2 separate regions of the Homo sapiens genome follow, and region 2 is linked to region 1. The links are contacts of gene promoters, found by promoter capture Hi-C in blood cells and fetal thymus (Javierre and others, 2016). All regions are on one chromosome and are shown on one strand. The core of a region is centred on a gene start or on the middle of the fragment in contact, and the rest is flanking DNA. Distances in the headings are between cores, read along the strand shown. Region 1 holds the start of ADAMTSL5 (ADAMTS like 5). Region 2 overlaps ATP8B3 (ATPase phospholipid transporting 8B3).

The links. The method cuts DNA at HindIII sites, captures the fragments that hold promoters and counts their contacts. A CHiCAGO score of 5 or more calls a contact.
Region 2: a fragment that was not itself captured here is called in contact with the fragment with the promoter of ADAMTSL5 in region 1 in 1 of 17 cell types (naive B cells); the score reaches 5.4 in naive B cells.

What each region holds. Positions count from the first base shown.
Region 1 is chr19:1,511,391-1,515,277 of GRCh38, reverse strand. It overlaps ADAMTSL5 (ADAMTS like 5), which reads left to right and starts at 2,259. Exons shown (of 12, transcript NM_213604.3): 1 at 2,259-2,315. RefSeq lists silencers at 1,146-1,225, 2,065-2,434. The HindIII fragment of the contact is 11,901 bases long and covers 1-3,887 here.
Region 2 is chr19:1,792,731-1,796,617 of GRCh38, reverse strand. It overlaps ATP8B3 (ATPase phospholipid transporting 8B3), which reads left to right. Exons shown (of 29, transcript NM_138813.4): 17 at 353-541; 18 at 631-743. Among named protein-coding and RNA genes, the nearest start is that of ATP8B3, 18 kb to the left of the region's middle. RefSeq lists enhancers at 1-195, 494-788, 196-1,008 and a silencer at 494-788. The HindIII fragment of the contact is 226 bases long and covers 1,735-1,960 here.

The DNA of each region.
Region 1 (3,887 bases), core at 1,010-3,509:
TCCCAGGAGGGAACAGGGGCTGCGGGGTACACTTTCCATAGAACTCAGTGCCTACTGTATGCGCTCCCTGCAGGAGACAGCGCCTTATGTATACCTTCCTTGCAGGATGCAGCACCTGCTGTATACCTTCCTTGCAGGATGCAGCACCTGCTGTATATACTCTCTACAGGATGCAGTGACTGCTGTATGCACTCCTCTGAAGGTGCCATATCTACTGTATACACTCCTTTGCAGGGCAGAGTCTACTCTATGCATTTCTACAAGATGCAGCACCTGCTGTATACCCTTCCTGCAGAGCATAATGCCTGCTGTGTGTGCTCCCTGTGGGCGCTGTGCTTTCTGTATACCTTCCCTGCGGGGCACAGGGCCTGCTGTCTGCACTCCCAGTGGAGCTCTGTGGACTGGACATCTGGGAATGGGGCACATCTGAGGAGGATACAATTGTCCTAATGACACATTGACACATGTCCTGAGCTGACTTCTTTCTTTCTTTCTTTCCTTTTTTTTTTTTTTTTTTTTTTTTGAGACGGAGTCTCGCCTGTCTCCCAGGCTGGAGTGCAGTGGCGTGATCTCGGCTCACTGCCACCTCTGCCTCCCGGGTTTAAGCGATTCTCGTGCCTCAGTCTTCCGAGTAGCTGGGATTACAGGCACTCACCGCCATGCCTGGCTAAGTTTTATATTTTTAGTAGATACTGGGTTTCACCATGTTGTCCAAGCTGGCTTCAAACTCCTGACCTCAGGTGATCCGCCTGCCTCGGCCTCCCACAGTGCTGGGATTCCAGGCATGAGGCGCCGCGCCCGGCCTGCCCTTCTCTCTTGACCCCTTCAGTGAGGGCCTTCTTGACATCCCCGCAACCACCACCCCCCAACCTGGGGCCATCAGTGGTGGGCCTGGGCTATTTTCTCCAATAGTCCAGGTCAGAAGGTGGGGGGTCATACATTCCAGGGGGCTGCCTTACCCGCTGGCCTGGGACTGGCTGGGTTGTTCACAGCTGTGCACACAGTAGGTGCTCAATAAATGGCATATGGGTGGCTCTGCTGACATGCTACAGGCTGGAGGGCAGACTGAGTTGGACCAGCAACACCCTGTATGTCCCCAGCAAACCTCTCTCCCTGTGGTCAGCGCTGTGGGACAGCAGGGTGGGCTTCCTGGAGGAGGGGGTGCTCAGACCGAGCCTGGGTGGAGCCCAGGGAGCAGGACAGTCCCTCCACCCCCTCCTTTAGTGCCCCAGTCCCTCAGCCCGCCCGCCAGGGGGCGCCGTGGGGCGACACCAGAAACTGGTGGAGCCCAGAACCCAGGGCCTGGTCTCATCCCTGCGTGGGTGGGCACGGGGCGGCTCACAGACGCCCGGCGGGAAAGGGTGGGGTGGGGGGAGTCCCGGGGTGCCCCCTCGCGTTGCCGGTCCGCGCAGAGCCGGATTCCAGATGGAAGGTTCGCGGTGGAGATCCCTGCCGGGCCCACTGCTGGGATGGGGAAACTGAGGCCGGAGAGGGTGTGGCCGCGGCTGTGAGGGAGAGGGACCGCCTGGACCCGGGTCTGGCTCTGAAGCCCCGCTGGCAGCCCCGGGGCCCGGCAGGGAGGGCGGGAGGCGGGGTGGGGCGCGTCCCCTGGTGACAGCAGCGCCCGGGAATGCGCCAGCTGGGAGGGTCTCTCCGCCCCCCGCGCGCGGCCCACGGGGCCGAGCCTCTCCCCAGTGCGCTGGGGCCCTGCGCTGGGGGTGACCGGGACCTGGGTCGGGGAACCCCCGGATGGGAGCCCAGGCGCGCCAGGGTCCCCATCCACGAGCAGGTCGACCCCCCGCGAGAGGGGTGAGGGGCAGGACCAGGGGAGGGGGCTGTGACCGGGGATGGGGACGCCGGTGGGACGCAATCCGGGCGTCGGCGGGGTAGGGGCAGCGCCCGGGACTCCCAGACCCAGGGCGGGGTGACCTCGGTTCGCGCACATTCCCGGGCCCTGAGCGCGGCGCCCGGAATAGCAGCCCCGGGGCAGAGGAGGGCGGTCAGTCCCCGCGCCGCGCCCCCGCCCGAGCCTGCCAAGGTCACCCGGACCCGGGCGCCCGACACCAGCCTGCGGCTCCGGGACCCCTGCGCTCGCGTCCGCCGGGCAGTCCCCTGCCGCAGATCCGCGCCCGCCGCGCGAGGGCGCCCGGGGCCGCCGCCCCTCCTGACCCGGGCCTGGGCGCGCCTGCGGAGGCCGCGGTGGGAGGGACCGTCCCAGGCTCCCCACCCCGCCCAGCACCTTGGGCCCCGCCGCTTCCGCTCGCCCTGGGGCCGCTCAGGGAGCCGGGACGCGCTGCCTGGGCTCCGCGCAGCCGGTAAGTCCATCTGCCTATCCTCCCACTTTCTCCGGGGGAAACTGAGGCCCAGAGGTGCGGCTTGCCTTGAGATCCCTCCGCCAGTCCGGGCTGCAGCCCACACGGGGAGGGGAGAGCCTTGATTCTGGGCAGGGCCCATTGAGGAGGGGGTAGGGTGGTCCTTGTAGCCCCCCACTTTTCACCACCTAGACCCCCACTCCTCAAACCAGGCTTAGAGTCCGGTGGGGGTGGTCAGAAGGTCAAGCCCCCTCCCCCTGTTTTTTTTGGTTGGTTGGTTGTTTTTGAGACTGAGTCTCACTATGTCGCCCAGGCTGGAGTGCATTGGCCCCATCTCGGCTCACTGCAACCTCCGCCTCCTGGGTTCAAGCGATTCTCCTGCCTTAGCCTCCCAAGTAGCTGGGATTACAGGTGTGCACCACCACACCGGGCTAATTTTTGTGTTTTAGTACAGATGGGGTTTTACCATGTTGGTCAGGCTGGTCCCAAACTTCTGACCTCAGGTGATCCGCCTGTCTTGGCCTCCCAAAGTGCTGGGATTACAGGCGTGAGCCACCGCACCTGGCCCCCCTCCCCTTGTTTTAAGTTTCTGGTGCAGACTTCTTCCTGCTTCCTGGGCCAGCCCAGGCTCTAGGCTCAGAGAGGGGCACGGATGCAGCAGACCACACAGCTGTCTCAGTACCTAGAGATACCCAGGACCCTAGACCCTTGGTGCCTCAGAAGTCCAAATGCTGGAGCCAGGGAAACAGGGTCCAGGTGGGACCCAGCCTCTTCCCCAGCTGGTGCCCGGGCCGGGGCTCACCCACCTGCCTTCAGGCTCTGCTGGCAGCAGGACGCCCTGGCTCACTTGGCGGCTGCTTCCCTTCCCCCCTCTTTCCCCCTGCAGGCTGGGGTCATGAGGAGGGTGTGGATGGCAAGTGACTTCATCCCTGCCCTGACAGGATGGAGAAACTAAGGCCCAGAGAGGCAGTCAGCCTCCTCCCCTTCCCTGCTCCAGCCTCAGCAGTGGCCCCTTCCCTCCACGGGCTGCCCCGGAGCTCAGTCCCACCCCCTCCGCCGATGAGGCCATGAGGCACCGAACGGACCTGGGCCAGGTCACCCCCTCCCTGTCCCATCCCCAATCCGGGGGACTCCCTGCTGTCTGGGAGCTGAGGGAGCCCTGGGGCCGGGGTGCAGCTGAGGGCCTCTTCTAGGGACCCAACTCCTGATCCAGCCCCTGCCGGCCGCACCTTCCGCAGGGTGTCACAGAATCATGGACTGAGTCCACTTGGCCCCCACTGCACAGATGGGGAAACTGAGGCCTGGGAGAGTGGAGTGGCTGGCCTCAGGCCACACGGAAAGGTAGAAGCAGTGATGGTGGGGAGGGCGGGGAGGGGGCCCCAGCCCTAGGAGGCACCTGTGTACTATTTTTGAATGATCCCTCCAATCATCAAGCATCGATTAAGCACCTACTGTCTGCATTATAGCACAATACACATATCAATAATATTGTAGGCTGGGTGCAGTGGCTCATGCCTATAATCCTAGCACTTTGGGAGGCCAAAGCAGGTGGATCACTTCAGGTCAGAAGGTTGA
Region 2 (3,887 bases), core at 598-3,097, 280 kb before region 1:
GGCTTTCAGCTGGCTTGGGGGGCGCTGAGGCCGGTGTGACACCAGCCGCACCTCGAGGGCGTCCGGGCCTGGAGCCCAGACAGTGCTGACAAGCATCGTGGCGGGAGGGCGGACGTGTCATCGTCAGGGCTAAAGGATGTCCAGGCCTGCGGTCGGAGCCCGAGGATCTGTTGTTGAGCGGGAAGGTCGTCTAGTCTCAAGTGCTCACCTCCATGCATTGGGTTGTACAGGCGGGGGTCCCCGGCCACCATCAATAAAGGTGTAGCCCAGGCGATACCCATCTCCTCCCTGCACTGTGGAGATGGAGACGGGCTCCACCACGTGACCCCAAAATGGCCCCCCTCCCTACCAGACCAGCTGTTGTACCAGGCGGCCTCCCCCGACGAGGGGGCGCTGGTCACCGCAGCCCGGAACTTCGGCTACGTGTTCCTGTCCCGCACCCAGGACACCGTCACGATCATGGAGCTGGGGGAGGAACGGGTCTACCAGGTCCTGGCCATAATGGACTTCAACAGCACGCGCAAACGGATGTCGGTGCTGGGTGAGCCCCGCCACCCAAGCCCTGGGCCCCCCAAGGTGGGGCGGGCAGACGGGGAGCCTCTGTGGGCAGCAGGGCCTGTTCCCCCACAGTTCGAAAGCCAGAGGGCGCCATCTGCCTGTACACCAAGGGCGCCGACACGGTCATCTTCGAACGCTTGCACAGGAGGGGGGCAATGGAATTTGCCACAGAGGAGGCCTTGGCTGTGAGTCCCTTCAGGAAGGCTGGCTTATGTGTGTGTGTGTGTGTGTGTGTGTGTGTGTGTGTGTGTGTGTGTGTGTGTGTGTGTGTGTGTAGGGACAGGAGGAGGAGGAGGCAGGGGAGGAGACTGTACGGAGAAATGGAAGGCTGCAGGTACCTGGGATGGCTATGTACAGTGAGGTATGTTGTGCACTGTACAAAACACCCTCCCCCGGCAACACACAAAACACACACACACCGGCTGGGAGGCAGCTGAACTCCCAAGTGTAGCCCCCAGAGAGAGAGCGTCTTTTTCTTTTTCTTGTCTTGTCTTTCTTTTCTTTTCTTTGAGACAGAGTCTTGCTCTGTCGCCCAGGCTGGAGTGCAGTGGCACAGTCTTGGCTCGCTGCAACCTCCGCCTCCCGGGTTCAAGTGATTCTCCTGCCTCAGCCTCCCGAGGAGCTGGAATTACAGGCACACGCCAGTGCACCCAGCTAATTTTAATATTTTTAGTAGAGATGGGTTTTCGCCATGTGGGCCAGGCTGGTCTTGAACTCCTGACCTCAGGTGATCTGCCCCCTTGGCCTCCCAAAGTGCTGGGATTACAGACATGAGCCATCGCGCCCAGCCTGCCTTTTCTTTTTTGAGAGGGAGTCTTGCACTGTTGCCCAGGCTGGAGTGCAATGGTGCAATCTTGAGTCACTGCAACCTCTGCCTCCCAGGCTTAAGCTATCCTCCTGCCTCAGCCTCCTGAGTAGCTGAGACTACAGGCGCCCGCCACCACGCCCGGCCAATTTTGTATTTTTAGTAGAGATGGGGTTTCACCATGTTGCCAGGCTGGTCTCCAACTCGTGACCTCAGGTGATCCACCCGCCTCGCCCTCTCAAAGTGCTGGGATTACAGGCGTAGGCCACCGCGCCCGGCCAAGGGTGTATTTTTCTCATTTGCACAAGACGACCGTGCGGTTGAGCTGGCCCAGCTGCCAGGACACACTCAGCTCCGTCTGCTCCAAAGCTTCCCACTCTGTGGGGGAAGCCCGAACTCCTCGGCCCAGGATTTGAGGCTTTTTCTGTCCCCTGCTGACCTCTCCAGCCTGGTCTCTCTTTGGCCTCACCAAGGGACTCCCTAGGACCCAGTTTCTGGCTTGTGACTTCCCCACTCTCAGGTGCTGCCTTGGCACCTTTGCACATGCTGTTTCCTGTGCTGGGAGGGTCTTCCCTGCACCTTTGTCATTCAGAAGCTTTCGGTGTCCTCATGACTCAGCCACAAGCTCCCCACACATGGGGCCTTTCCTGCCCCACCCCCTGCCAACATGGGGCTGTCATCACCCCAGGCTGCCTCCCCCTGGTCCAGCCCTGACCCTACAGGGCCAGAGGATTCTGCGTCCAGCCTGGGGGCTCCTCACAGGTTCTGCTGGGGCCCCAGCAGCATGGAGCACAGGGCAGCGGGGTGTGTGTGGGAAGATGTCCTGTGTCCCCTGCTCTGCCAGGATGTGGGGGCACTCTGAACTGGAAGTGCGGTCACAATAATGACCTAGAGCCCAGGAGCTCAGCAGGTCAGCTTAGCTCAGCCACCCCAGGGAATGGATGGGTAAATTGAGGCCGGAAGAAGGGTCAAGGCCTGTCGGAGGCTGCCAATGTCCGTGAAGCTCCTCTGCTGTGTCAAGCCCAAGCTCTTGGACCCGTGCCCCATCAACAACAAAAGGGAAATCAGACATGGTGGCGCGTGCCTGTGGTCCCAGCACTTTGGGAGCCTGAGGCAGGAGGATCGCTTGAGTGCAGGAGGTGGAGGCTACAGCAAGCTGTGATCGCACCACTGCACTCCAGCCTGGGCGACAGGGCGAGACCCCTGTCTCTTAATAAACAGGCTGGCGCGATGGCTCACGCCTGTAATCCCAGTGCTTTGGGAGGCGGGCAGATCATTTGAGGTCAGGAGTTCGAGGCCAGCCTGACCAACCTGGTGAAACCCTGTCTCTACTAAAACTACAAAATCAGCCAGATGTGGTGGTGCAGGCCTGTAGTCTCAGCTACTCGGGAGGCTGAGGCAGGAGAATCGCTTGAACCCGGGAGGCAGAGCTTGCAGTGAGCCAAGATCGCGCCACTACACTCCAGCCTGGGCAACAGAGTGAGACTCCATCTCAAAAAATAAATAAATAAAAATAAATAAATAAACAAATTTGAGACCTAAGGCCACCCCTTGGAGCACAAAGCTGGGGGCAGGGTCGGGGGGTAAGAAGCCGTAAGGGCACCTTCCTTGGGGACCCCCCGACCACCCTTGGGGTGCCTGCTCTCTGGGCCTGCCCAGTTTCCTCCCAGCCCCTAGAGGCCCCAACCCTGGGTCTGGCCCTTGAGAAATGAGGGGCCCAAGGAAGGGGCTCAGAGAGCCAAAGTTGAGGGGTCAGAGGGAGGGGCCTGGGACTGGGGGAGCCCCAGCTGGGGAAGGCACCGGGTGGGTGGACTGCATAGAAGGTCTTGAGTGATAGTCAGAATTCGCCATGCAGGCCAGGTGTGGTGGCTTCTGCCTGTAATCTCAGCGTTTTGAGGCTCAGGTGTGCAGCTTGCTTGAGCTCTGGAGTTCGAGACCAGCCCAGGCAACATGGTGAAACCACCTCTATTTAAAAAATATATATATATACAAAGAAATTAGCCGGGTGTGATGGCATGTGCCTATGATCCCAGCTATTTGGAAGGTAGAGACAGGAGAATCACTTGAGCCCAGGAGTTCGAGGCTGCAGTGAGCTATGATTGGGCCACTGCACTCCAGCCTGGGTGACAAAGTGAGACCCTATCCCCCACCCCCGAGAAAAAAAAAAAAAAAGAATTTGCTGTGCAAAGCATAGGGAAGGTGTTCCTGGCAGGGAAACAGTCCTCCAAGAAGGTCTGGAGGCAAAAGAGAGCTGAGGGTCTGGGGGTGGGAGCAGGTGTCTGAGACAGAGTAGGTGGGGAGCAGGGGCAGCTCAGTTTTCTTTTCTTTTTTTTTTTTTTTGAAACAGAATCTTGCTCTGATACTCAGGCTGGAGTGCGATAGGGCGATCTCAGCTCACTGCAACCTCGGCCTCCCAGGTTCGAGGGATCCTCCCACCTCAGCCTCCTGAGTAGCTGGGATTCCAGGCATGCGCCACCACACCTGGCTAATTTTTTATGTGTTTCGAGTGGAGACGCGGTTTCAC